Regions from separate parts of the Homo sapiens genome. Here regions 2, 3, 4 and 5 are each linked to region 1. The links are contacts of gene promoters, found by promoter capture Hi-C in blood cells and fetal thymus (Javierre and others, 2016). All regions are on one chromosome and are shown on one strand. The core of a region is centred on a gene start or on the middle of the fragment in contact, and the rest is flanking DNA. Distances in the headings are between cores, read along the strand shown.

Evidence for each region. Contacts are between HindIII fragments. The CHiCAGO score rates a contact against its expected background, and 5 or more counts as called.
Region 2: a fragment that was not itself captured here is called in contact with the fragment with the promoter of PAQR3 in region 1 in 1 of 17 cell types (neutrophils); the score reaches 5.8 in neutrophils.
Region 3: a contact is called between a fragment that was not itself captured here and the fragment with the promoter of PAQR3 in region 1, in 1 of 17 cell types (M2 macrophages). The highest score is 6.2, in M2 macrophages.
Region 4: a contact is called between a fragment that was not itself captured here and the fragment with the promoter of PAQR3 in region 1, in 5 of 17 cell types (M2 macrophages, naive CD8 T cells, M0 macrophages and 2 more). The highest score is 13.3, in M2 macrophages.
Region 5: a contact is called between a fragment that was not itself captured here and the fragment with the promoter of PAQR3 in region 1, in 1 of 17 cell types (M2 macrophages). The highest score is 5.7, in M2 macrophages.

What each region holds. Positions count from the first base shown.
Region 1 is chr4:78,935,099-78,940,983 of GRCh38, forward strand. It overlaps PAQR3 (progestin and adipoQ receptor family member 3), which reads right to left and starts at 4,340. Exons shown (of 6, transcript NM_001040202.2): 1 at 3,942-4,340; 2 at 23-185. The coding sequence starts at 4,126. RefSeq lists silencers at 3,870-3,939, 4,030-4,519. The HindIII fragment of the contact is 16,646 bases long and covers 1-5,885 here.
Region 2 is chr4:81,340,786-81,346,965 of GRCh38, forward strand. No RefSeq gene overlaps it. Among named protein-coding and RNA genes, the nearest start is that of RASGEF1B, 130 kb to the right of the region's middle. The HindIII fragment of the contact is 3,101 bases long and covers 2,913-6,013 here.
Region 3 is chr4:80,991,752-80,997,344 of GRCh38, forward strand. No RefSeq gene overlaps it. Among named protein-coding and RNA genes, the nearest start is that of BMP3, 36 kb to the right of the region's middle. The HindIII fragment of the contact is 2,867 bases long and covers 2,114-4,980 here.
Region 4 is chr4:81,058,165-81,064,028 of GRCh38, forward strand. No RefSeq gene overlaps it. Among named protein-coding and RNA genes, the nearest start is that of BMP3, 30 kb to the left of the region's middle. The HindIII fragment of the contact is 2,350 bases long and covers 1,939-4,288 here.
Region 5 is chr4:81,040,867-81,046,900 of GRCh38, forward strand. BMP3 (bone morphogenetic protein 3) reads left to right here. Exons shown (of 3, transcript NM_001201.5): 2 at 4,872-5,782. Among named protein-coding and RNA genes, the nearest start is that of BMP3, 13 kb to the left of the region's middle. The HindIII fragment of the contact is 4,463 bases long and covers 864-5,326 here.

The DNA of each region.
Region 1 (5,885 bases), core at 3,090-5,589:
CAGTATTTGTGAAATGACTTACCTGGAAGCAGAAAAGACAAATAGAACAAATTACAAAATCTTCTCTGGACGCACTTGCTGAAGGTAACACAGATGTCATGTCATATATTCCCAGGGTGAAGAAGAGAAAGAAACCCAGCAAATGACTCCAGATGTTTACTGTCTCATTAGATAAAATAAACAAACTGGAAAATAAACACACATGCAACTGAGATTCACATTGGCCAACTTACTGTCACGTTCAAAGGTTAGGGACAATTTTGAGGAGTTACCTAATACTTGCTCCTTTAAGCTCTTACCCCACCTGTACCTTTCTAAATTTGATATATTATCTAATTAAATTATTCTAAGTTTTTCTACATCGCCACCAAGTCTGGGACCACAGTTTTTTGGGTGCTCACCTCTATTATCATACTTACCATTTCCTTCTCTGTATTAAGAGATTTACATACAAATTCCATCTCATCTTCCAGCCTATCAATTCCCTAATGGTCAGTACCATTCATCTTTATGACACTACTGTTCACAATGCCTTGCTCAGATTAGTCTATAGACTAAAGGTCTCCAGAAATGAACGTGCAGAGGAAATCTGGATGTTAACTAGCACACTCTATCAATAATACGTATCTGAAAACCTGCTCAGTGCAAGGTTAGGCATCATCTTAAAATACTTTCCTAGAGCTCATTAAATACAAATGCAAAATTAAATGGATTTAAGAGAAGCAAAATAAATATATATTGATCCATTGGAAAGGTTCTTTAAGATAGGCATGCCAGAACAACTTTGCCGTGGATGTTTTAAAACTAGTCTAGTTTCCAGGTGGCATAAGTTTCTCCTTTTCACAAACAACTGGACTTAACTTTTAATATGGGTACTACGTGCTCTCTTTCAAAATGCCCTGGGCTAACTGGACTTGGCAGCACAGGTTGCTAGAGCGTGTACCACCCTGAGTCAAGAGGCTCACTGTCCCCACCCTACACAAGTCACTTAACCTCTCCCGGCTTCAGTTTCTTCATCTATACAGTAATGGAGCTTCATTAGATGCTGCTGCAACTTTCTTCTAGCTCCTTTCTTACTTTTGTGAAATGGTTCTCCAGATGTAGATAGGACTCATCTGATTATTTACTGAAAGGTGACATCATGACTAAAGATTAAAATACTCTTGCATTTGTCTGCAAAATCTCGTATTTTTGCTTAAATTTAGGTTTTTGGTCTTCACTGATTCAGAAATCCTTGACATAATGACATTGACATATAACTCTAAATTTGTAGCAGTCACTGTGGTTCTCAGGTTCTCATTTTTACAAGAAATGGAATTTCCTATTTGCTTTGCTTCTCAACTTCATTTCTTGTAACAATGAAAGTGAGAACCATAGTGACTGCTACAAATTTAGTTATACGTCAACGCTTACTAGTAAGGATTTCTGAATCAGTGAAGGCCAAATACATGATGTATATAGCAAGGTGTCAAAACTATCAAATGATCATCAAAAATAAAGTGAATCTTGGATCATGAATTTCAGGCTTTATCATGTACAAGCATCAAGTGTAAAGACTACTTATAACTGGAGGAAGGGATGCACGAATGTGCTTGAAACATCTAACTACAGGACTGTTTTGACAATCAGTACTATGCTCTGCTTATTACTTCAGAACTTTTCTTTTTGTGAAATCCAGTATAACCTGACTAACTGAACTGAGAGGCACCACCTCTCCATGTTCCCTGCAGCTAACAGAGGACTGGCAAAACTGCTATGACATACAAAACCTCCTCAGATTACATCCAAAATCTGTCCCCGTCACTCCTGAAAGCCAAAAGGAGAGAGGGCAAAGGCTAAACTTGGAAAAGATAAGGCTGGTGGGAAGGCAAGAACATCTCCAATAAAGAATCTACTCTTACTGTACGAAAAGTTAGGTGTCTCCTGCACAGTAGACACACCTGACAGCAGTATCTTAAGCATACCCTGAGAATGACCCTATATGAAAAACACACTTGAATGTGTGTTTACAATTCCAAGCACGGCCAACCCTTAGACTGATTCCTTATCTATGAGGAACATCTGAGCCCCTGTCCCATCTCATGGAATGCTGACTGTACATGGGATGGAGGCCTTTTGTTTTGCAAATGAAGATTACCAGATGGAGGTTGTTAGGGGGAAGGGTGCTAAGTAAAAATGCTATTTAAACTGCATGCTTTCTGCAGGCGGCAGAGGTTCTCCCGTTCAGGCCACTGTCACTGGACCTCTCTGTAAATTACCCTAGTAAAACCCTATGTCTTGTTTACTGGCTTTGGGTCTCTTCTTCCGTCTTTCGAACCTGGTGCCATCCTTATTGAAGTTAACAGGAGTCCAGCACCACATCTTCGTATTCTGTTCAGTTTTAAAATCAAATAATCATCTTCATTATCATCATCTGTTCAGCTTCACAACCACTGGTGATGACAACAATCACCATTTATTGACGGCTTATTAGGTTCCAGGCCATGTATAGCATTTCACACACAGAATCTTACTGAATCTTTTTTTACCTCTGGAAGCAGATACTGTGATTACCCTCATTTTTATATGTGGGTATAATGAGGCTCAGTGAGGTTACATTTTGCTCCAGGTCTCAGAGCTGTTAAGTGGCAGATTTGGATACTAAAGTCTTTGACTCAATAGCTCAAGAGCTAATGCTCTATACTTAATTTTCCACTCCATGAGATTTGGACCCTAACATCAGAACGCAGAAGACCACTGCTAGTTGAGTAGAAAATATTTAAGGCAATTCACTGCTTGCCCTATTCTTGTGGAACTCCAGATCCACAGCAGAACTCAGCTGTGTAATTTACTCATGCACAGGAGGCACTGGGGAGGAAAACGGTAATTACGCTTCAAGTTGTGAATCCTAAGGGCCATCCATTCAAGCCAAGTAGGGATGGGCAGTGATGTCACCTTGTGACCATGAGTCACAGAAACACTTTCATGGCAGGACAAAAGGAAAGAAGGGCAGGAAAAGACAATGCTGGAAAAATCAAGAATCAGACATGTGGTTGCCGCTTGAGCAATTCAACAGCCCACATTCTGGCACTAGGGTTTGCCACTACAGCGACCTGGAGCTAACCAACACCTGTATCTTAATTCTCCTGAAGCAGAGGTCCTGTATTTTAGTACAGGTAGTAAGTTTGGACAGTTACTCCAAGAACTAGAATAGTTATTTTTCAGTTTTGTTTTTTTAAAACACGGATTTTCAAGGGACTGTGGTTTTAAAGGTTTAAAATGATAAAGAAATTTCTTTCTTAGAGATGCTTCTGTGGTGCTCTAGTGGAGACTGGGTGCCCGTTATGAGCTCTCTTTACCACAGTACTTTTCCTACACAGCATTTTTTCCACAATGGTTATTATGTAATTGTGTAATTATCTATTTAATGTCTGTTACCCAGGCTACACCTTAGTAGCTTCATGAAAACAAGGGCCATGTTTGCTTTTTTTTCTGCATGGGCTCCATAAGTATTTGCCAAATGAATAAATCTCGGGTGTATATGTTAACTTGTTTCCTATTATACAGGCACTTATCTGGCCCAAAGCTACTGAATTCCCACAGTGTTGCTCTAAAAAGAAAGGTATACACCGGGCAAATATGGCTCAGCCCCATTTCAATATATATCTCAATGAGCCGAACAAACCGAATAAAGGATGTAAAAGCCCTTTGTAAAGAGCAAAGCGTCATAGGAGAGCTGTAATTATGATCACTGTTACTATCATGATTATTCCGTGGACCAAGTACCCCGGCCAGGTAAGGGGAGATAACGGGGGAGGAGAGGCGGCAAAAAGGGATGAAAAGGATGGGGCGGCGAGGAAATGATGGGCAAGCAGAAAGGCGGGGAAAGCAGAAGGGGGACCAGACAAAAAGGGTGTAGGTGAGAGAAGGGGGCACTCCAGGCGGAGGCAGCCAGACCGTACCTTTTGATACACAGCCTGGACGGCAGGTAGGCCCGGTAGCCGTCGGTGATGTACGGGTTGTCCTTGAGGGACCCGGGGATCTGCTCGTAGGTGTACAGGCGGATGCCACGGGGCACCAGGACCGGCCAGTACTGGTAGCTGCCCAGCTCGATGTAATGCGCGCTCTTCAGCAGCTTCTGATGCATCGTTCCCGGCCGCCGCCGCTCCCCGGCTCGGGAGCTCCCCCAGGTCCCGCCTCCCCGGGGAGGGGGCTTCGCCGCTGGCGCCCCCGCCCCGGAGCCCGCGGACGCTGCGCGAGGTCCTACCGCGCTGCCGCTGCTGCCCAGGGCCCGGCTCTGCGCTCACACCGGCCACTGCCGCCAGCGCCGCGGCGGACCCGGCAGCGTCGCAGCCTCCTCTGACGTCAGCGCGCCGCGGCGGCCCCGCCCCTCAGCCCTAGCTGGGAGGGGCAGGGTGCTGGGGCGCGCCCGGGTGTGCTCGAGCGTGCGCTGGCGGCGGCCCGGGCTCCCGGGCGTCTCTCACGCTGTGTTTTGGCGGCGCCTGGGGTCTTCGTTTGCATATGAGAAGAGCCGAAAGCACAGAGCTACAGGCGAATACAAGTGGATTTTTTTTCTTTTTCTGTTTTTTTATTAGAAGTAATAGTTGCTGCATTTTGAAAAATCAAGAGGAAAAGAGTTAACAGGAAGAAAAGTTCGAGGTAATTACCGTTTAGTTTATGCTTGGAATTACACACACTTAGTGTCAGAAGGGACTTTGAGGATTTCTAAGCTGAAGTCAGCTCTTAGCACGATAATTGGAAAGAGAGGAAACCTGATGCACGTGGAACATACACCAGCATCGAGCACATCCTGAGCCATAAAGGAAAGCCCCCGTGCATTCAAAACTCCGACCCCTTTCAGCGTTATGTTCTCTGATCACAGTAGAATTAAACTAGAGTAACAAGAAAACTAAAAGTCTCCACGTCTGGAATAGGAGCAATACACCAAATATTTCAAGGGCTGATGAAGAAATCACAATGGAAATGAGAATATCTACTTAACTGAATAATATAGAACATATTAAAAAATCCTGTGGAGTGCGGCTATAGTAGCGTTTACAGGAAGTGTTGCAGCTTTGTTTCTGGCTATTTACTGTAATGCAAGTGTTTACTTATAATGGCAACAGGGCAAAACATCAGTTTGAGTACCGTATGTGTATAATAGAACGCTTAGTCCATTGTTTGGCATTGTAAGGGCAAGAAAAATATCTTGTCCTCACTTATCACAAGGTTCACAGCTGACATTCCTATGAAAAAAATTAAGAGAAGCCAGGCGCAGGTGGCTCATGCCTGTAATCCCAACATTTTGGAAGGCCGAGGCAGGCGGATTGCTTATGCCCAGGAGTTGGAGACCAGCCTGGGTAACATAGTGAGACGCTGTCGCTACAAAAAAAACCAACCAAACAAACAAAAAACAAAAATTAGTCGGGTGTGGTGATGGGCGCCTGTAGTCCCAAACTATTCTGGGCTGAAGTGAGAGGGTTGCTTGAGCCTGGGAGGTCGAGGCTGCAGTGAGCCATGTTTGTGCCACTGCACTCCAGTCTGGGTGACAAAGCGAGACTTTGTCTCAAAAAATAAATAATAAAAATTAACAAGAAAAGGGATAATAAATTCATTTAACACAGTTTTATGTGACAGAGGAGTCTTCAGAAATGAAGACACAAAGACCCAGGAAAAAATGGGCTTTTTATGCTAAGTCTGATGAAAGGAGTGGATAGTTGTGGAGAAACATGATTGAAAGGGGGCATCATCTAATGATAATAAACTGAGGGGGGATCCTAGCTAGCAAGGCCAGTTCATTCAAATTCTTGGCCTCAGAGTATGGGGCAGGAACTCTCTAGAATGAGGGTTTTATGACCTAGTTTCAGGTGAGGTAAGTCAGAACTCCTTTGTGACCACGGAAAGGC
Region 2 (6,180 bases), core at 3,213-5,712, 2.4 Mb after region 1:
TTTTCTTTTGTTGTTGTGTCCTTGCCAGATTTTGGTATCAGTATGATACTGGTTTTGTAGAATGAGTTAGGGAGGAAGCCCTCCTCTTTGATTTTTTTGGAATGGTTTCAGTAAGATTGGTACCAGCCCTTTTTTGTACATCTGGTGGAGTGTGGCTGCAAATCCATCTGGTCCAGGGCTTTTTGTAGTTTTTTGGTGGGAAGATTTTTTTCATTACTGATTCAATTCCATAACTTGCTGTTGATCTGCTCTAGATTTCAATTTCTTTCTACTTCAATCTTGGGAGGTTGTGTATTTCCAGGAACTTATCCATTTCCTCTAGGTTTTCTAGTTTGTATGCATAGAGATGTTCATAACAGTCTCTGAGGATTTTTTTGTATTTCTGTGGTATCAGTCCTAATGTCACCTCATTATACTTTGTCATTTCTGATTATGCTTATTTGAATCTCCTTTCTTTTTTCTGTTAATCTAGCTGGTGATCTACCCATTTTGTTTGTTCTTTCAAAAACCAACTTTTCATTTTGTGTGGGTTTTTTTAATCTCAATTTCATTTGGTTCTTCTCTGGCCTTTTTTATTTCTTTTCTTCTGCTAGCTTTGGGTTTGGTTTGTTCTTATTTTTCTAGTTCCTTTAGGTGTGACATTAGGTTGTTAATTTGAGATTTTTCTATCTTTTTTAGGTAGGCATTTAGCATTATAAACTTCCTTTTTAGCATGGCTTTTGCTGTATCCCAGAGGTTTTGGTATGTTGTGTCTCTATTTTCATTAGTTTCATTTTTGTTGACTTCTGCCTTAATTTTGTTATTTACCCAAAAGTCATTCAGGAGCAATTTGCTTATTTTACACATACTTGTGTGGTTTTGAGAGTTCCTCTTCCTATTGATTTCTGATTGTATTCTACTGTGGTCTGAGAAAATGCTTGACATGATTTTGATTTTTTAAATTTATTGAGACTTGTTTTATGACTGAGCATGTAGTTAATTTTGGAGAATGTCCCATGCTCAGATGAGAAAAAAATGTGTATGCTGTGGTTGTTGGGTGGTGTATTCTGTATATGTCTATTAGGACTACTCGGTTAAGAGTTCAATTTAAGTACAGAGTTTCTTTGTTAGTTTTCTGCCTTGATGATCTATCTAGTGCTATCAGTGGTATGTTGATGTCTCCCACTATTATTGTATGGCTGTCTATCTCTTTTCTGAGGTCTAGCAGCATTTGTTTTATGAATCTGGATGCTCCAATGTTGGGTGCATATATGTTGAGGATAGTAAAATCCTGTTGAATTGAACCCTTTATCATTATATAATGGCCTTCTTTTTACTGTTGTTGCTTTGGAGTATGTTTTATCTGATACAAGAATAGCAACTCCTGCTCTTTTTTGTTTTTGTTTGCGTGATAGATATTTCTCCATCCCTTTACTTTGAGCCCATGGGTGTTATTACACATGGAGATGTATCTCTTGAAGGCAGCAGAAGGTTGGACCTTGTTGTTGCTGTTGTTGTTTTATCCCACTTGCCACTTTTAAGCATTTAGGCCACTTATGTTTAAGGTTAATATTGATATGTGAGGTTTTGTTCCTGTCATATTTTTGTTACCTAGTTTCTTTGTAGTCTGAATTGTGTAATTGCTTTATAGGATCTGTTAGCTTTGTACTTATGTGTGCTTTTATGATACCAAGTATAGTTCTTTTGTTTCCATGTTTCGAACTTCTTTGAGCATCTCTTGTAGGCCTAGTCTGGTGATGATTAATTCCCTTAGCATTTGTTTGCCTGATAAATACTTTATTTCTCCTTCATTTATGAAACTTAGTTTAGCAGGATATGAAATTTTTGGCTGGCATTTTTTTTTCTTTACAAAGGCTAAAATTAGGCCCCCAATCTCTTCTGGTTTGTAAGGTTTCTGCTGAGAATTCTATTGTCAGTCTGATGGGATTTCCTTTACAGGTAATGTGATCCTTTTCTTCAGTGGCCTTTAAGATTTTTTCTTTTACATTGACCTTGGACAGTCAGATGACTATATGCTTGGGAATGGTTGTCTTTTATAGCATCTTGCAGGTATTTTCTGAATTTCTCGTATCTGAATGTTGATCAATCTAGCAAGATTAGGGACATTTTCCTGAAGTATTCCTTTGATTACATAATCCACATTTCTTACTTTTTCATCTTCTCTCTCAAAAATGTCAGTAAAGTGTAGGTTTGGTCACTTTACGTAATCCCCTATTTCTTGAGGGCTTTGTTCATTTTCTCAGTCTTTTTGTTTTTGTTAATGCAAAAGACTGGTCTTCAAGCTCTTAAATTGTTCCTTCTAGTCTTTATCTAGTCTATTGTTTAAAGCTTCCAATTGTATTTTGAAATTCCTGTAGTAAATTTTTCAATTCCAGATGGTTTATTTCATTTTTTCTTAATATAACTGTCTCATCTTTCATGTGCTGAGTCATTTTTCTGTTTTTTTTGTGTGTGTTGAATTTCAACTTTCTCTTGGATCTCATTCAGTTACTTTGAAATCCATATTTTGAATTCTTTGTCATTCTAGACTTTCAATTTAATTAAGATTCATTGCTAGAGAGATAGTGCAATCCTAGGTGTCAAGACACTCTGGCTTTTTGTATTGTCGGAGTTCTTGCACTGATTCTTTCCATCTGAGGGAGCTGCTCCTTCTTATTTTTGAATTTGCAATCATTTGGATGAGACTTCTAAATTTTTTTATTCTTTTTTTCCTTGAGGGTATGACCATGGAGTATGTTGTGTATGATTATTTGGCTTTGTTTGTGGGTACTTTCAGAGGCCTAAGGCTCTGTTTGGGTTCCTCGGTTGTGGATAGCTTCTGTGTGCTTTCTCAGATGCTGTTTGTTGTAGTTATGTATTGTATGAGCTTACACACTATCTCCCGCAGGGCTGAGGGTGTGGAGGATTCAAGAAGCTTATCTCTGGACTAGCACTAAGCCCTTCTGACAGCAGGATTTTTATTTGGTAGTGCAGTTCAGGCTTATTGAACTGAAGCAATATCCATGGCCCGCAGCCACATTGGAGGTGCTTAAGAGTAAAAGCCAGCTCATCCTCAGGTGGGCTGATGAAGATTGAAAACAGCCTGCTCTGATCCATCTTGAATTAATTTTTATATAAGGTGTAAGGAAGGGATCCAGTTTCAGCTTTCTACATAAGGCTAGCCAGTTTTCCCAGCACCATTCATTAAATAGGGAATCCTTTCCCCATTTCTTGTTTTTGTCAGGTTTGTCAAAGATCAGATGGTTGTAGTTCTGTGCTATTATATCTGAGGGCTCTATTGTGTTCCATTGTCTATATCTCTGATTTGGTACCAGTACCATGATGTTTTGGTTACTGTAACCTTGTAGTATAGTTTGAAGTCAGGTAGCATGATGCTTAAATGTTAGACCTAAAACCATAAAAACCCTAGAAGAAAACTTAGGCAATACCATTCAGGACATAGGCATGAGTAAGGACTTCATGTCTAAAACACCAAAAGCAATGGCAACAAAAGCCAAAATTGACAAATAGGATCTAATTAAACTAAAGAGCTTCTGCACAGCAAAAGAAACTACCATCAGAGTGAACAGGCAACCTACAGAATGGGAGAAAATTTTTACAATCTACCCATCTGACAAAGGGCTAACATCCAGAATCTACAAAGAACTTAAACAAACTTACAAGAAAAAATCAAACAACCCCCTCAAAAAGTGGGAAAAGGATATGAGCAGACACTTCTCAAAAGAAGACATTTATGCAGCCAACAGACATATGAAAAAATGCTCATCATCACTGGCCATCAGAGAAATGCAAATCAAAACCACAACGAGATAACATCTCACACCAGTTAGAATGGCAATCAGTAAAAAGTCAGGAAACAACAGGTGCTGGAGAGGATGTGGAGAAATAGGAACACTTTTACACTGTTGGTGGGACCATAAACTAGTTCAACCATTGTGGAAGACAGTGTGGCAATTCCTCAAGGATCTAGAACTAGAAATACCATTTGATCCAGCCATCCCATTACTGGGTATGTACCCAAAGGATTATAAATCATGCTGCTATAAAGACACATGCACATGTATGTTTACTGCGGCACTATTCACAATAGCAAAGACTTGGAACCAACCCAAATGTCCATCAATGATAGACTGGATTAAGAAAATGTGACACATATACACTATGGAATACTATGCAGCCATAAAGAAGGATGAGTTCATGTCCTTTGTAGGGACATGGATGAAGCTCGAAACCATCATTCTGAGCAAACTATCACAAGGACAGAAAACCAAACACCCCATGTTCTCACTCATAGGTGGGAATTGAACAATAAGAACACATGGACACAGGGTGGGGAACATCACACAGTGGGGCCTGTCATGGGGTGGGGGTAGGGGGGAGGGATACGATTAGGAGAAATACCTAATGTAAATGACGAGTTAATGAGTGCAGCACACCAACATGGCACATGTATACGTATGTAACAAACCTGCATGTTGTGCACATGTACCCTAGAACTTAAAGTATAATAAAAAAAATAAAAAATAAAAAAATAAAAATAATTAAATAAAAAAGAATACACCTTCTCTGATGCAGGGTAGTGGGGTAGGAAGAGATTGTGTTGAGGTGTGCCAAGGTCTTGGAGGAAGGAGCAGGAGGGATTCACCAGCTCCTCATCCAGAGCAGGCAGGAATGCAACCCACTTCCCTATCATGCTCCTGTCAGAGGACTTATGAACTTCAATTCATAAAGACTGTGACCTTTGATTCCTGACCACAGTGTGACTGCAGGACACGGATATGCCCCTCTGATGGCTACCGCCAAAATGAGTTGAAGAGGCTTTGCCCCTTCCCGCAGTCCAGTGCAGGCAGCTCCATAATTTTTCTGTCCTCTGTTGCCAAGACATTGCCGCTCTGCAAAGGGAGGAGTAGCTGGGTCCAGTCCTTTGGCATCCAAGTGGCATAGGGTCAATTTCAGTGGGGGGTGGAGCTGGCATGAAAAGCACAAAAAATGCTTTCTCCGCATGTCCACACACTCACCCCCAGTGAGAAGAGCTACTGCTGTGTCTGCAACAGAGGACGGGAGTGGGGCAGTGGGCAGGACAAGTCCCCCTCTCCACTTCCATTTCCAGGCATCAGTGCTGTCCCCTTCATTGATTGCCATCACACCTCTGTTTCCTTTGTCCCAAGGGAGGCCCTGGTGGGCTGTACTCCCCCCTCCCTTAGGGGGGCCCATGCAGACCATTAGATTTCCAGGGATTCTGCAGTTTCCTGGGGACCCACTGTCCCCTGTGCTTGCCAAAGTCCAAGCAGGTTGTTAGGTATGGTGGCGTGGCGACTCGACGGCAGAGAATCCCTGGCCAGGGCGGTGGCCCACTATGGTGCACAACCAGTATGGCACCTGCTGTCTCAGTTCAGGTATGAGAGAGTGTGGGCACACCTACACGAGCTGGCCACCCAGGTCTCTGTCCCTGGAAAGTTCCCAAATTGCCACTAACAGCATTGCTCAGGGTCACCAGGGGAGAGGGGCTCCCCAACAGTTGGTGGTCAGCAGATTGTCAGAGGGGTGAGGGAAGCAGAGAAGCACTCCCACCTACTCTTTCTGCAGGGCTCCACATTCCTCAGGGGCTGATCTCTGCCGTATTCTTGCTGCTTTCCTTTTCTGCAGCCCAGCTTCTTCCTTTGTGCTCTCTGACACGTTCTGGTTCTCTTCCCTCAGTTTTCCATTTGAAACTTGTCCATTCACCAGTAACTTTGATCTTCTTTCCGAGTAGAACTGGCACCTGATGTCACTAAGTCAGCCATCTTGAAAAAAACACATTAGTTTCTTTAATAGTTTTTACCCCGTACCTTTTGCATAATCTCCTGACATTTGATTATCAGAAAGAGTATTTTTCAAAGTACATGGGCCATAAACTTGCGAGTTACCTGAATAAGTTGTTATTCTGGTTATTATTACTGTTTAACAAACCAGACCAAAACTCAGTGGCTTAAAACAAGAGTCATTCATTCATCAATCTGGGCAGGGATTGGTAAGCTTGGCTTATCTCTGCTCCACATAGTCAGCAGGTGCTGCTTGAAGGTGATTAACATCCAGGGGCTGGAATCCTCAGCAGGCCCACTCTCTCACTCATGTGTCTTGGGCTTGTTGCTGGGTGTTAGCTGGGTGGTTGGCCGGAACCTACATAGGGCCTCACCATAT
Region 3 (5,593 bases), core at 2,297-4,796, 2.1 Mb after region 1:
AATTATTCTTCCTAAAATGTACCTCTGATTATTTCATACTCTAGCATCCTTTTCTTGTCTGGTAAAGGAAGTACAAACTCCTCTGTTGGCCTTTTAAGGTGTAGTCTTTGTCTGCTCTTCCAACTGTGCCTCAAACTTCTCACTGACACAAAGCTTTTCAGCTATATCCCAGGTTTCTGCCCTTTCTCTAGCAATTCGGTCCTCTCTGACCCATCTGTCTTACTCTTTAGTCTTGCCCTTCTCACAGGGATATCTTAGCATATTCCGCAGATCAGCACATAGATCATCTTCCTCACGAAAACTTTCTTCCACCTTTAATATGTGTGAAAACTATTATAATTTTTGCATTGAACTTTTAACTCTTAACACTGTTCATTAAAGATAATATTGAACAATCTAGGCTCACACTGAAAATCATCATCAAAATGCAATATAATAATTATCTTCATGGGACACTGTACTAGACATCATGTAAGAAAAATTCAAGAAAAGTGACGGAACTTCTGAATTCTTCAGAGTAGTGTCAAAAGATAGAGAGAAAAAAAGAACTGAGCCAGATAAAATATCATAAAGTACAGAGATTGTAATATGAAATTGAGTTTCTAAGTAAAATTTTATTGTCATTTGTTTTATTTTATTTAAAAGCATAAAAATCAAAGGTTTTCAGATGCAAATATTCTATAGGGATGGCTGAAGTAAGGAAAATATATACTGCATCCCTACAATTGGCAAAATCCTACTTATTATCTCATTTCATACATAAGCAAAGAGGTAATAAATGTTTAATAACAATCTCTGAAAAGAAAAAAAACCCTGATTTGAAGTCTTTGCCAATTTCTGTAGTGTAAATATTTTCACTACTAATATTTCTATTTAAAGCTACGAATGTGGCATCTCTGATCATGGAGTTAGAAGAGATGTTCACACCTGCCTCTCACACTCTGGTACAACGTCCCTCAAGCACACTTCTATAAAAACTAATTATTTTCCCTATTAAGCAGATTAAGGAAGTGAGAATCAGAGACGTTTTATAACTTGCACAAGATCACACAGTCAATATACAGAAAAGAGGTGATTTTAGTCTGCTATGTAAGATTACAGATTCCACTCTTTTTGGCTAGAGCGCACGCCTGATCTCTATCAGCAAGTTACTGAATTAAGCAAATTGAACATAGACATCCCTCAATACCCTCTTGTTTCTACCAGGAGTAGAGAAACAGAACAACAAGGAATAATCACATAGTGGACAGGGCCTCAATAAAAGACTTCAATGGGGAAGAAATCTCTAGTAGCATAGAGTGTTGATTCTCAGGAACATAAAACAAAAGATGAGCATAAATTGAGCTTTTGCCTTTTCTCATGAGCTTCCTCTATTTACCTAAGCCTCTTACTTTTATAGAAACCCATTACTTTCTGTTGGCTCTTAACCTAGCCACACAATGAATTTCTCCTTATAGTCAGTATTTTTCCTCCCTCTCTCCCTATTTCCTTTCCTTCCTTTTTTCTACATTCGTTTTTTCCTTCTTCCCTTTCCTTTTTTCTTGTTTCTTTCTGCTGATACCATTTTATTGTTGTTCTTTAATTATCAAGGGTCAGAAATACATATACTATTTCCCAATGTTACACACCCAACATAACTCATCCGGAATTGTCAGGAAGGTAGTTAGCTCCAATAGAATATTAAAAAGTGGTCACAGGTCAGGCATGGTGGCTCATGCCTGTAATCCCAGTGTTTTAGGAGCCCAACACCAACACAGGAAGATTGCTTGAGGCCGAGAGTTTGAGACCAGCCGGGGCAATGTAAAAAGACACTGTCTTGACAAAAAGAAAAAAAAAGTGATCACAGAATCAGGGTCTACTAATTAAGTACATAAATATGTATTGTGAGGGTCAAATAGATTTATCCAGAGGAATATAAAACACTCCTATTAAAAGTTTGGAATGCAAAATTAACTTCTGGGATAAAAAGCTGAATTTTGGTTTTCTCTGTGTACAAACCAAGGTTAAAGTGTAAATGTTTCTGCACATAACTCAGATTCCAATATCATACAGAGGAAGAAGAATAAGTACTATAAAGAGTGGACAAAGTACACTTCCTCTTATTCCCATAATAAGCTTGCCCAATACATTGTTAAAAATGAAATTAATTTCTAACTTAGCCTTTATAATAAGAAGGATCAAGACCAATTCTATGGTAGTTGACATTGCATATCAAGTAAAATATAAAACAACTCATGACGAAAAGAGCTGCTCCAGTTAAAATAAATGAGGGTTTTAAAAAGTCACATACTCAAGAGTCACTTTGTAGCCCTTAGTTTTTTTGTCTAAAGTATTCCCAGGAGCAGATTGGTCCTTCTCCCACCCACCAGCACCCTCTCTCATCCCCCATTTTTCAAGTCATTTGTCAGCACACAGCGGTATCCAAGGTGCCTGGACTCTGTCAGGTTTTCATCTGGAAAGCAAAGCAAAGCCGTCTGAAGCCACTCACACATTGATCTCCTACCAGTGAACAGAATCCAACTTACATGAAACCTGCCACTCCTGAACCATGCTTACAATAGAGCACTCTGAGCAGCTGTGACCCCTCTATCTAGAGCACCATGTCAAAAATGCATAAAAGGAGTAACAGAAGAGAGAAGAAACAGAAATGGAGACCAGTTCATGAGCACCTCCAGGACTCAGTTTCTTTATCATTACGTTAGACAAGATCTGGTTCAGATTTTTTTTTATATATACTTTAAGTTTTAGGGTACATGTGCACAATGTGCAGGTTAGTTACATATGTATATATGTGCCATGCTGGTGTGCTGCACCCATTAACTCATCATTTAGCATTAGGTATATCTCCCAATGCTATCCCTCCCCCCTCCCCCCTCCCCACACCCCACAACAGTCCCCAGAGTGTGGTATTCCCCTTCCTGTGTCCATCTGTTCTCATTGTTCAATTCCCATCTATGAGTGAGAATATGCAGTGTTTGGTTTTTTGTTCTTGCGATAGTTTACTGAGAATGATGATTTCCAATTTCATCCATGTCCCTACAAAGGACATGAACTCATCATTTTTTATGGCTGCATAGTATTCCATGGTGTATATGTGCCACATTTTCTTAATCCAGTCTACCATTATTGGACATTTTGGTTGGTTCCAAGTCCTGGCTATTGTGAATAATGCCGCAATAAACATACATGTGCATGTGTCTTTATAGCAGCATGATTTATAGTCCTTTGGGTATATACCCAGTAATGGGATGGCTGGGTCAAATGGTATTTCTAGTTCTAGATCCCTGAGGAATCGCCACACTGACTTCCACAATGGTTGAACTAGTTTACAGTCCCACCAACAGTGTAAAAGTGTTCCTATTTCTCCACATCCTCTCTAGCACCTGTTGTTTCCTGACTTTTTAATGATTGCCATTCTAACTGGTGTGAGATGGTATCTCATTGTGGTTTTGATTTGCATTTCTCTGATGGCCAGTGATGATGAGCATTTTTTTCATGTGTCTTTTGGCTGCATAAATGTCTTCTTTTGAGAAGCACCTGTTCATATCCTTTGCCCACTTTTTGATGGGGTTGTTTGTTTTTTTCTTGTAAATTTGTTTGAGTTCAGTGTAGATTCTGGATATTAGCCCTTTGTCAGATGAGTAGGTTGCGAAAATTCTCTCCATTTTGTAGGTTGCCTGTTCACTCTGACGGTAGTTTCTTTTGCTGTGCAGAAGCTCTTTAGTTTAATTAGATCCCATTTGTCAATTTTGTCTTTTGTTGCCATTGCTTTTGGTGTTTTAGACATGAAGTCCTTGCCCATGCCTATGTCCTGAATGGTAATGCCCAGGTTTTCTTCTAGGGTTTTTATGGTTTTAGGTCTAACGTTTAAGTCTTTAATCCATCTTGAATTAATTTTTGTATAAGGTGTAAGGAAGGGATCCAGTTTCAGCTTTCTACATATGGCTAGCCAGTTTTCCCAGCACCATTTATTAAATAGGGAATCCTTTCCCTATTGCTTGTTTTTCTCAGGTTTCTCAAAGATCAGATAGTTGTAGATATGTGGCATTATTTCTGAGGTCTCTGTTCTGTTCCATTGATCTACATCTCTGTTTTGGTACCAGTACCATGCTGTTTTGGTTACTGTAGCCTTGTAGTATAGTTTGAAGTCAGGTAGCATGATGCCTCCAGCTTTGTTCTTTTGGCTTAGGATTGACTTGGCGATGCAGGCTCTTTTTTGGTTCCATATGAAGTTTAAAGTAGTTTTTTTCCAATTCTGTGAAGAAAGTCATTGGTTGCTTGATGGGGATGGCATTGAATCTATAAATTACCTTGGGCATTATGGCCATTTTCATGATATTGATTCTTGCTACCCATGAGCATGGAATGTTCTTCCATTTGTTTGTATCCTCATTTATTTCATTGAGCAGTGGTTTGTAGTTCTCCTTGAAGAGGTCCTTCACGTCCCTTGTAAGTTGGATTCCTAAGTATTTTATTCTCTTTGAAGCAATTGTGAATGGGAGTTCACTCATGATTTGGCTCTCTGTTTGTCTGTTATTGGTGTATAAGAATGCTTGTGATTTTTGTACATTGATTTTGTATCCTGAGACTTTGCTGAAGTTGCTTATCAGCTTAAGGAGATTTTGGGCTGAGACAATGGGGTTTTCAGATGATATTGAGGATCATTTTCAGCTCAAAACCTCTGTAACATAAATAAGCATCACAAGGCTGTGGTTTTCATTTTTAAAAGCTGCGTAAGATTCAGGGATTCAATAAAGAGAAGTATTTTAACTTTTCGGTAATTCGTCCCAGCCAGAAAAGAAGTGTGATGTATCAGTGTGTGCTTTGGAACTTTGCTTGGGCACCTTAGAAATTTTCTGAAACAAATAATATATGAAAAAGATCTCAAAAAAAATGCTACCAGTTTATGTGGCAGAAAAGGGACTTGCTGTCTATTTAGCACCCACTGTGGGTTAAGTGCTTTGAAGAAATTCCCAGAAAAGCTTCTGAAGCCTGCAGTCTCCTGGAGGAGTCATTATCTTCTATGGTCCAGTCGTGAATATTCATAGTTGTGAGCATTTTAGTAAGTGTTTCATTTCTCTTTTAAATGAATAGGCTCAGAGAGCCTACCACACTTTGATTAAATAATAACAGTAACTGCCACACAAAAACTGTGTTCAGCACTTTTCCTACAGTATGTTTTTTGATACTCATCAGAGCATCATATTCCCATCTTAAAAGGTGAGAAAAGTGAAGTTCAGAAATGTTGAGTCATTCACCCAAAATCATCCAGACTTTAGAAAGAGGCAGAGTTTGGTTTCAAAGGTAACTGATTATAATCCCAAAATATACAATCCCAAATGCTATAAACCTGAATGCTGAAATCCCAAATATGAAAATTTGGATCTAAAGTCTAAAATCCTGAAAATATAATTCTAGAAAAAATAATTTAAAAATTATTTTAAAGACATTCATTTACATTTTTAATGAGGATATATTTGAGAAACATGTAAAAACACAACAGGACATTTCATAGGACAATTTACACAATAAAATATGCAATACATATTTTGCAAGCATAAACACTCAAGTACACTAATGACACTCACATGGG
Region 4 (5,864 bases), core at 1,864-4,363, 2.1 Mb after region 1:
GGACAATAAACTTTCTGCTTCTTAGGGTTGTTACAAGGTTTAATGAGATAATACATGTGAATGACTTAGCCAAGTGTCTAAAACAGAATAAAGACTTAGTAAATATCAATTGTTATTATTTTTACTATTATCTAATGTAGTCTTCCCATTTTCCAGTGAGGAAATGTAGACATGCTATACTGTAAGTTTGGATGTCTACCCATCATGCCTCCCTTTGGAACTGGCCCCCACCAACAGGAATGGTTCCTTGACACATGACAAAATTGGACCAATGCTGGTAAAGCTGAGAGGTTATTTAGCAGCATGGCTGGCAATGGAGGCTTCCAGTGATTTTTAGCAGGCATGTGGAAACGTTGTAAAAGCTAGTTGTGAAGAGAGAAGAATAAATTGGCCAGGGATAGAGCATTGGGCCTTGCATAGTAAAAAGAGTGGCTGCTCTGTTTCCTGATGATATTTTAGTTCCTGTATCTTTTTCTCATAAATCGAACTTTGTGTCCTTGGTTTGCACTGGCTATCCCTGAAAACTCAACAATTACTCACTTGTACTTATGCTGGTTTAAGCCAATATCTGTAACTTGCAACCAAACAGTATTGACTATGATATACTGGAGTAAGTATGCCCAATTGCATAAGACTAGCAACTGGAAAAACTGGTATTAGAATTCTTTGTAACATTATGGAGAGAGCATCTTCCTTGAGATAATACCACCTTGAGTTTGAATTCTGGTTCTTTCAGTTAGTAGCAGAGTGATGTATGCCTTTGAGGAATATTGATGGAATCATCATACTTTCAGGGTAGCCAGTTTTGTGACTAATGAATACTTTCAAAAGAGTTGCCTCAGTTCTCATGCCAGAGGATTGTCTTGAAATACCACTTAGAATTGATCTTTGTAGCTATTAGAAGGTATGGTGGGAATTAAGGTTAAGAATAAGAACGTTGAGCACACATCCACTTAGTATTACCAAGGATTGCTCACATCATACAAAACTCTATTTTAGTGGGTAGAGATGTGCTTGATGATATAAAGCATTAATGCCTACATTGTCTGCAGTCTCAGAACTGGAAGTTAGCTATATGTAACTATTAACAAGTGAATATCAACCAGTAAAATGAAAATATATTCACATAGGAAAAGCACAATGTTACAGAGTTATATATATTTACATCCACAACATACAAAATGTGAGAACCCCGTGAGCCTTCCCTTCATACTCTTTTGTTCACAAAAAGTGGATGTTCTCACAATATGATATTTAAATTTTAATTTGGGTTATATTTGTTTTTTTCAATTGCATTTGAAGCAACATCAGAATCTATGGCAATGCTAAGCTCTGGGCTTGAGCACTTTCCTAAGTTCCTTCACCTCTTACATGTCCTAATTTTCTCCAGGTGGTGGTTAAAAATTCCTTTTTGCTCTAGTATACCAGAATCCATGAGTCAAACATCCATATTAAATCACAACTTATAAATATTTTTCTCCTGATCATGTCTTGGGAAAAAAAGCAACAACAAAAGTCACGATGGAAGGGAAAGAGAGAACACAAGAAAGGACCAGGGTAATAGATCATCCGTCCCTCAACTTAGGAGATTGTTGATTCTATCTCACTTCTATCATGTGATGGGGTTTGTGAGACTCTTCTACTTTTCATACCTACATTTTATTTACAGCATTCTTCCTCTTACTTTAATAATAAAAAGTAGGTGATATTATTTGTCTTACTATATTTTAACAAATAACTAAGGCATCTAATACCTTAACGAAAAACAAAGCCAAATGAATTGTAGAAAATAGACTAAAATATTATATATGTGTATTTCTGGTATATGAAAGTTTATTTTTATGCATATTGTATTTCATAGATACAGGCTTACAGGCAGACAATTTACGTTAGAATCTCAACTCTGTCACTTACTGTAGGACCTTGGACAAGTTATTAAGCTTCTTTCTGTTTCCATGTCCTCATGTGTAAAATGAGAACAAAACACAGAGCCTGCCTTACAGGGCTGTGAAAATTACTTGAGCCTTTATACATGAAACACTTATAAATGTTCATAGCACAAAGTAAATATTCTTCGAAATTTGCTTTTTGATTTTTTTAAATGCATTTTATACACTTCCATGAATGAGTCCTCATTTGACCCTGAGAAGTATTGGTGCGTATTATCCTCACTTTACTGACCCAGGAGAATAACTGACACACCTTAGGTCAGAACCATGCTAGTAGCATCAGGGCTGGGATTCCAGCAGCGATAATCTCACCCCAATTGTCCTATTCTTTTGCACTTCACCTCAGTTGCCTCTACTTAAAGAAAGCTGCCAGAGTAATTTCACCCATCTTTCCTTGGAGTCCTGAGAAATTTGAGGAAAATAGACTATCGCATCATAAAGAAAGCAAAAAAAAGTTTTAATAATGGGGTAATGTTTGATTAGTGTTGGGATCTGAGAACTTTCCCCTGAGTTGAACTTCCCCACCCAATTTCAGGTCAACCCGGGTGGTACAGAGATGGTCTCAGTGAGTTGAATTTTTGGAAAATGGAAAAATGTGCATTTTGAGTAAATAAATTCTGAAAAAGGGAAAGTCAAAGTGAGGCTGAACTGTGTACTCTCAGTTCCCATTTCTTCTCATCGTCAATCAGATATGTCTCTCCCCTTAAAGAGAAAGGATAGGGACAAGAGCAGAAAATATTACTTCAACACCGTTTCCACCCAGAGAGTACAAAGGAATTCCTGTTCCTGTCTAAGGAGAATAGAGGTAGTATACTAATAAGAGCCTCCCCTTCATCTCCACAATGCCACTAAACAGGAAATTCTGGCCTTCCCTACACGCCAAAAGAACAACAGCACAGGTGACTTAAACTTTAAATCTTAACATGGCCCCACTAAAAATATGAACCAATGGTCAAACCACCAGCTTTTACCCTGTCATCGGTAGGATCATTGCTCCTTCTCCCATGGGGAAGAGCCATGAGAGGAGGAAGAAAAAAACAAGAAGTATCTCCCAGCACTGTTTTCTCTTAGCCAGTGGGGTGGAAGTTGAGCGCCCTTTAGAGGAAAATGAGAAATGGGGTAAAAGTGACTTGCCTAACATATCTTGTGATATGAACTGTCTCTTATCTTTTTAAAATTAAAATAAACATAAGTTATGAAACTTAAGCAAACACTATATACAGTAATCATTTTAGGTAGTTGGGATTTGTTTTATTTTCATTTTTTGGTATGAATTTCCCTGCCTTGTGTACCATGCCTATTTTCTCTAGGTCCATCAGAGGATGTGGAAAGAAAATCCATCTTTGGTTTGCTTCAAGTCCAAGGCCATAGTTGTCTGAGTATTTGAGATACCTCCCATAGAGAAAGAGAACTCTATTTTGCAAGACAGTTGGAGGCTACTCTGTTGATAATTAACAAGGTCAGAATACCTGAGAAGCATTATTTTTACCCTGCCTGCTCAATTTTAGTTGGTGGCAACTTGATTTGAGTTTATTCCTCATTTCTTTTTGTTTCATCAAAATACTGCCTTGAGGGCAATAAAAAAAATCCAATCCCAGAAAATGTTAAATCAGAGAGTAGCAGGTGTTTTCTTCCCCTTATTCCCTTGATCCCAGCCCTATACTCAGACACACACACCGCATACACACACACATACACACACATGTCCTAGAAAAAGTTAAATCAGCGGGTAGCAGGTGTTTCTTCCTCATGTTCCCTTCATTCCAACCTGCTCACAACTGGGAACTGGGGATGGGGGAAGGAGGGAGGAAGAAAGGGAAAGAAACCGAGAGAGAAATGCCTAGCTCTACTAGAACATCACAGAAGCAGGGAGAGAAATATGGTCATGATCCAACCCTTTGCTCAAAATATTATGCTGAACCTTTTCAGATTCAGCACATAGGCAAACTACCACCAAGTTGCAATGAAAACCAACCCCCACTTCATGGGGGCTCAGGCCAGATGTGAATGCAGCAGTCCAGAGGTGAGGCAATTATGTGCAAGAATCATGTGAAAGAGCATTCCCCAAAACGAACTCACTTAAGGAAAACATTTGGTGTTTACAGGACTTCAGCCCTGTTTTCTGGAGATTTTCCATCACTATAAACACTGACATATACACACATGAACATAAGTGGGTTTTTTAAAATGGGCCTAGAATATGTGATTTCACTAAATTATCTCATTTATTAGAAATGAAAAAATTAATGGTATAATATCAAAAATTTGGCAGCTGAAACAGTCACATAGACAAATACTGAATGGAAGCCAGTGCCCATAGGCTGGTGATAATACATGGAAGCTTGGAACTGTTAGTAATCTTCAGATGATTTTGTAATGCAGAGGTAGATGACCTGCCTAGCTAGGGAGTGTGTGTGTCAAAACCGGCCCCTTGGAGCTCTGCTTTCTGCTTCATTTGATTTGAAAGCCACCTTCTAACACATCCAAGGAATAGCAGCATATTATAAAGAGAGGCTTCAGGTGTGATAGGATAGGCTGAGAGCATTTCAAAGTCCCTTTGCTTCTAATGTCATCAGCAGTTCCCATTTCTTCTTTCACAGTGTAATGGGGTAGACTTTAAATTCTATCCCACTTGAACTAGTTACAGAACTGAGATCTATAATTTAACATTAGATGAATGAGATTTCTGTCTTGTAGCAAGCAGACTCCTCTGCAACATTTTTTTGAACTGCCTATGAGAAAATAACCTCAAGCTTTGAGAATAAGGAAGAAATCGTCTAAACATGAGTATATTGATTTAGATTAAAATGTCATATTTTACTTACATAAAAAATCTTAAAGAATCTTGGACTTTGTTAGTATTATTTCTTTTGCAGCTTTCTGGAATAAAATTCGAATTTGAGAGAAGGCTCAGTAGCCTCTAGAATGGTTGTCAGGCACATATAGATGATGGCCTACAAATCTGAATTGGTATACAAAGTAAAACTAAAGAAAGTTTTAAAAATGGAATGATTAAAGCTACTTATTGATCAAGTATTTTTTGAATTCTTTTGTTTACTGAATTTATGGAAAAATGACGAAGCCAAATCCTAGACTTTCATAATTGATGAAAAGTAATTATTTGGACTATAAAACCTCTTACTTAAAAAATAATGTTTGCTTTGAACCACTGGGAATTTGAAGAGTGTTACCATGACCATCATCAGAGACAAGAGGTCCCGAATAGTAATTTGTCTATTAATTGACATAAATAGCAGTGGCTGACAGTGGAAAGACTCTGAATAAAAGCAATTGTTCAGTAGTTTGAATGACAGGCAGACTGGAATTTCATTTTGGCCTAAGATTTAAAGGTCTAGCAAAAAATTAAACCACTCAGAAAAATTCCCTTAGTAGACGAAAGAGTTGGGAGAGTGTGAATCTGAGGCTGTGCTAAACCACAGCCACTAGCCATAGGTGGCTATTTAACTTTAAATTAATTAAAATTGAATAAAATTTTAAAATTCAGTTTCTCAGTCCAACTAATCACATTTTAAGTGCTCAATAGCCACGTGTGACTAATGGTTACCTTTACTGGATCAGCTAGATGTCAAACATTTCCATTACCACAGACAGTTCTCTTGGATGGCGTGGATCTACTAAGGGATAAATAGGAAACAGATAGATTTTGACCCTTCAGAAAAAAATGTTGCCTGTTGTGTTTCCCTCAACTGAATAAGAGACACTGTCAAATAGGGAGATACTTGGTCAGAAAAGCACTAAAGGACTCAGTGTCCTCATGGCTGACTAAAAATTGAAAAATAATTACAAATTTATAACTCATATTTCTTTGAGAGTATATACTAATCACTCCCTGACATATAAGTTCCCTCAGGTCATTTCTTCTGGTATTCAGTCCAGTATTTACTCAACTGAGAT
Region 5 (6,034 bases), core at 1,845-4,344, 2.1 Mb after region 1:
TTTTTTTATCATTATTATATCGGTTTGCTCTTATTAATCAGGAAGTACACTTCAGGTTTTTGATTCAATCATTCCCAATAGATAAGTATCTGAATATTTCAGAAGACTAGAAAAGGTGAATATTAAGGTATTTTTTATTTACTGATATTCAAACGTAGATATTTGTGTGCATAGATAAAGCTGTGCTACAACTCATGGGGAAGAGAGAGACAATGCAAATCTTCTGTTCATAAGTATGGAAAGTTACTCACCTTACAAGTTAATATAAAATCTAAAAAGTAAAAGAGCATGAAAGTAATTGAGTAGATATTATCATGCACTGCTATTTGCAGGAAGCCGTTTACCTCACTCTTATTTACTTCTCTATATACATTCACTTGACCCCATGCTGCTCGCTTATTACAATTTTTTTCATCCATTGTAAATGCTCAGCAACTATTTGTTAAGTTGCTTTGGAGAGAAGATCATTAACTTACACAAAAATAAAGTGTTTTAGAATCAGAGAAGGCAAAAATAAAGTATGGGTTAGAAAAGTCAAAGTCAATGAATGCTTTGTGAAATGGCTGATAATTCTAGCTTATTGTTTTGCTTCTTGGTTTTTTTTAAACCCAGGAGGGAGAGGACCTAGAACAGGCAGAGATCCCTAGCCTAGGTGGAAATAACAAGAGCAAACACATCAAGTGTTGGGCATAACATAATGCCTTTGGTTAGCCTTCAGATTGGCCATTCCTTGCTCAACTTGGATGACTTAGACATTCACTAGAACTTCAATTCTATAGAACTACTAGAACTTCAATAACTAAGTTAATTGTAAGTATTTTTATATTTTCTATTTAAAACATTGGCAACATTTCTTTTGCAAAAGCTTCCAGACATACAGCATTGCATACTGCTAGAATGTGTTCCTTCCATCCCCTCACCAAGATTTCTTTCTTCCTTCATCTTTAAAAGTCTGGTCCAAAGATTACTTCCTACCTGTGTGTTTCTTTGCCTCTACCTGGGTAAAGTTAATGGCTCCCAATTCTGCTCCAAGCATAGCTAACACCTTCGGCAGCTTGTATTATCATCATGGCATAGTCTTTTTTTTTTCCTTTCCATTTTGACTACAAAACTAGTGATTATTCTAGACCACAACCATCCAATAGAGATATAAGGGGAGCCACAAATGTTAGTCACATATGTAATTTAAAAATTTTAGTAGCCACATTTCAAAGTGTGAAAAGCAACAAGTGAGATTAATTTTAATAATATATTTAATGCAATATAGTTCAATAAAGTCACTTTAACACACACTGGCTTAATATAAAATGTATTGCTACGATATCTTATATTCATTTTCTTACCAAGTCTTCAAAATTCAGTATGTATTTTATACTTACAGCACATCTCAATTTGAATGTAAGTGGCTACATACTATCATACTGGAAACCACAGTTCTAGTTAGCTAACATTTATTGAATACTTTCTGTGTGCTTTATGTGCCTTCTCTCAATTAATCCTCGCAACAACTCTATAGTTGCTACTACTAGACCCACTTTATAGATAAGCACACCAAAACTTAAAGAGCTTAGGTTATTTGTCTGAGGGCTGCTATTGGTTGTAGTGAAATTGCAACTGGACCAACAGGCTTTGACTTCATAAGAAAGCACTGGTTTAAAATGAGAGCCATTGGAAGAGGCAGTAAGACAGATTCTGAGACTTTTACAAAACGATGTTGTAGATTAGACACAGAGGTAGAGGCTAATTAACAGCAGGTCACAAGGTGACTAGAAGGAAACATGTTTGAAAGAAGAAAATATTTTGAAGCAAAATGTGGGGCAAAGGGCAGGATTGGTTTACCCATTAAGTTACTGCCACTCATATCCCTTGGAGATCATTTATTCCCTGCCAGCATGTTTGTTTGGCAACCATTGGATTGCCACATACCTAGAACAGAGTGGCTTCTCTTCCTTCCACTTTAAACTTCTAGCTACTACACGAAATTTGGGTAAAAGTATATGCTCCGGTGACTGGTATGAATTAAGGCTCAAGTCTCTGAACAGTCCTGATGCCATGGCTTTGTTATAAAGGTCTGTAAAATATTATCCTGGTGTCATGGATTATACAAATGTGCACCAATGGCAGTTTCCTCCTTTTCCTTCACACAGTGTTAAAAATGAATAGAATATGTTTCCCATTGCACTTCCCTTGTGCTTGGGGACTCAATGAACTCATTTTAAGTTTCCACATCTTTATAAAAATGTTTTGTTTTTACTGAAACATGTTTTTGATCAAGAACATAATTTCACGATTGCGTGTGTGTTTCTGAAACAAATATGTATATGAAACAAGTGCATGGAGAAGGGCTTAGGCTCTGGTGACTGATCCCAGGATGGGAGATTCCAGAGTTCTAACCTCAGTCCTGTGGATCTCGGTTTATGAGCTAAAGGAGAGGAATCAAATTCTGCACCTATTAATAAATCTCTCATTCTCTTCTTCTCTCTCATTTCTGGATTTGAAGAATTGGAAGTATGGGTGAACAATTTTAATCATTTTTGTTGCACTATATAGAAAGTTAACTCTTAAATTTATGGAATGTCATAAACTTCAAACAAGCTCCACAACAGCATTCTTTTTTTTTCTTTTTTGACATTTTTGCAGTATGCCTTATTTTTTCAGATGTATTATTTGAATATTGAGATGCGTTGGATCCTGCTTACCCAATGCTTATCAAGCATACTACAATTTTTTTTTTTTTTTGAGACAGCGTCTCACTCTGTTGCCCAGGCTGGTGTGCAGTAGTGTCATCTCGGCTCACTGCAACCTCCACCTCCCAGACTCAAGCGATTCTCCTGCCTCAGCCTCCCGAGTAGCTGGGATTACAGGTGTGTGCCACTACCGCCTTGCTAATTTTTGTATTTTTAGTAGAGACAGGGTTTCACTATGGTGGCCAGGCTGGTCTTGAACTCCTGACCTCAAATGATCCACCTGCCTTGGCCTCCCAAAGTGCTGGCATAACAGTCATGAGCCACTGCACCTGGCCTCATCCTACATTTTTTGAAGTAGGTAGAAGAAGATGTAATCCCTGTAAGACTGTTAATACCAGAACTAATAACAATAATAATTGATATTTAAGAAACACTTCACAGACACTTTATGGACTGCTTTATACATGTCTCATTTAATTCTGATGACATGGGAGGTAGATATTGTCTCATTTTGTGAATGAGAATATTAGCTTGTATAATGTTGTGAAGTTGGTAAGTGGCTGAGCGAGTACTCGAATCAAGGTGAGTGTAATTCCAAACCCTGTGTTTGTAGCCCGTAGGCTATACGTGCCTCAGATAAAAAGCTATTACAATACATTGCCAAATTTGTAGGAATAAGTCTTGACAATCCTCCATAACTCTGAGCTTTCACCCCTTTAAGTTTATTTCTCCGTTAAAATTTTCACACATTTATGGTGCTTCAGTAAAGGAAAGAGCAAAGTAATTAAAATGGCTGATCCTTGCTAACCTTTTTTTGTCTTTTAAAATTATTCCTGTTTATTACTCTCTTTTTATTCCACTTCCAGGAAGCCTCCAAAGCAAGAGACTGCATAATTGTTTTGCTTTGTTTTAATTGAGGTGAAATTCACATAGTATAAATTTAACTAATTTTAAGTAAACAATATAATGACAGTTAATACCCTCACAATGTTGTGCTATCACCAAGTCTATATAGTTCCAAAATATTTCCACAATTTTAAAACAAAACCCTGTAACCATTAAGGAGTTTCTTTTCATTAGCCCCTCCCTTTGGCTTCTGGCAAACACCGATCTGATTCTGTCTCTATGGATTTTACTATTCTGGATATTCCATATAAATGGAATCAAACAATATGTGATCTTCCATGTCTTGCTTTCATTTAGCATAGTTTTTTCAAGGTTCATCCACATTGTAGCATGTGTCAGTACTTCATTCTTTTTCATGGAAGAATAATATTTGATTGTATGGGTATACCACAATTTCTTTATCCATTCATCCATTGGTAGTCATTTGAGCTGTTCTAACTTTTGGCTATTGTGACTAGTGCTGCTATAACCATGTAATTATTTGAGTGCCTGTTTCAATTCTTTGGCGTGTATACATAGGAGAGCAATTGCGGAATCATAATAATTCTATGTTTAACTTTTTGAGGAACTGCCAAAGAGTATTCCACAGCAGGTGAACCATTTTGCATTCCCACCAGCAATTTGAGAGTGTTCCAATTTCTCCACCTTCTCAGTAACCTTCTGGGTTTTTTCGTTTATTTGTTATAGTCATCCTAGTGTGTATCAAGTAGTACTTCACTGTGATTTTGATTGTGTTTCCCTGATGGCTAATGATGTTGAGCATCTTGTCATGTGCTTCTTGGCCATTTATATATCTTCTTTGAAGAAATGTCTATTCAAGGCATTTTCCCATTTTTATTTGGTTTCTTGGTCTGTTTATTGCTGAGTTGTAACTGTTATTTATATGTTCTGGATACTAGATTTATCAAATGTATGATTTGCAATTATTTTATCTTATTATGGAAGTTGTCTTTTCACTTTCTTGACAATGTCTTTTGATATACAAAAGTTTTTAATTTTAATGAAGTCCAGTTTATTTTATAAATTTACCGATTTTATTGATGTATCTACTTTTTCTTTTATTGCTTACACTTATGGTGTCATATCTAAGAATGGCTTCATATCTAAGAAGTCATTGCCAAATTCAAAGTCATGAAGATTTACCCCTAGGTTTCTTTCCAAAAATTTCATGGATTTAGTTCTTATATATAGGTTTCTGATTCATTTTGAGTTAATTGTCATATAGTGAAGTAATGGTCTTGTTTTCTCCTGTTTACTCTCTTTCTTTTTCCTTCCTAGAAACTCTTGAAAGAAAAGGACTGTATATCTTCAATCTGACATCGCTAACCAAGTCTGAAAACATTTTGTCTGCCACACTGTATTTCTGTATTGGAGAGCTAGGAAACATCAGCCTGAGTTGTCCAGTGTCTGGAGGATGCTCCCATCATGCTCAGAGGAAACACATTCAGATTGATCTTTCTGCATGGACCCTCAAATTCAGCAGAAACCAAAGTCAACTCCTTGGCCATCTGTCAGTGGATATGGCCAAATCTCATCGAGATATTATGTCCTGGCTGTCTAAAGATATCACTCAACTCTTGAGGAAGGCCAAAGAAAATGAAGAGTTCCTCATAGGATTTAACATTACGTCCAAGGGACGCCAGCTGCCAAAGAGGAGGTTACCTTTTCCAGAGCCTTATATCTTGGTATATGCCAATGATGCCGCCATTTCTGAGCCAGAAAGTGTGGTATCAAGCTTACAGGGACACCGGAATTTTCCCACTGGAACTGTTCCCAAATGGGATAGCCACATCAGAGCTGCCCTTTCCATTGAGCGGAGGAAGAAGCGCTCTACTGGGGTCTTGCTGCCTCTGCAGAACAACGAGCTTCCTGGGGCAGAATACCAGTATAAAAAGGATGAGGTGTGGGAGGAGAGAAAGCCTTACAAGACCCTTCAGGCTCAGGCCCCTGAAAAGAGTAAGAATAAAAAGAAACAGAGAAAGGGGCCTCATCGGAAGAGCCAGACGCTCCAATTTGATGAGCAGACCCTGAAAAAGGCAAGGAGAAAGCAGTGGATTGAACCTCGGAATTGCGCCAGGAGATACCTCAAGGTAGACTTTGCAGATATTGGCTGGAGTGAATGGATTATCTCCCCCAAGTCCTTTGATGCCTATTATTGCTCTGGAGCATGCCAGTTCCCCATGCCAAAGGTAGCCATTGTTCTCTGTCCTGTACTTACTTCCTATTTCCATTAGTAGAAAGACACATTGACTAAGTTAGTGTGCATATAGGGGGTTTGTGTAAGTGTTTGTGTTTCCATTTGCAAAATCCATTGGGACCCTTATTTACTACATTCTAAACCATAATAGGTAATATGGTTATTCTTGGTTTCTCTTTAATGGTTGTTAAAGTCATATGAAGTCAGTATTGGTATAAAGAAGGATATGAGAAAAAAACATGTG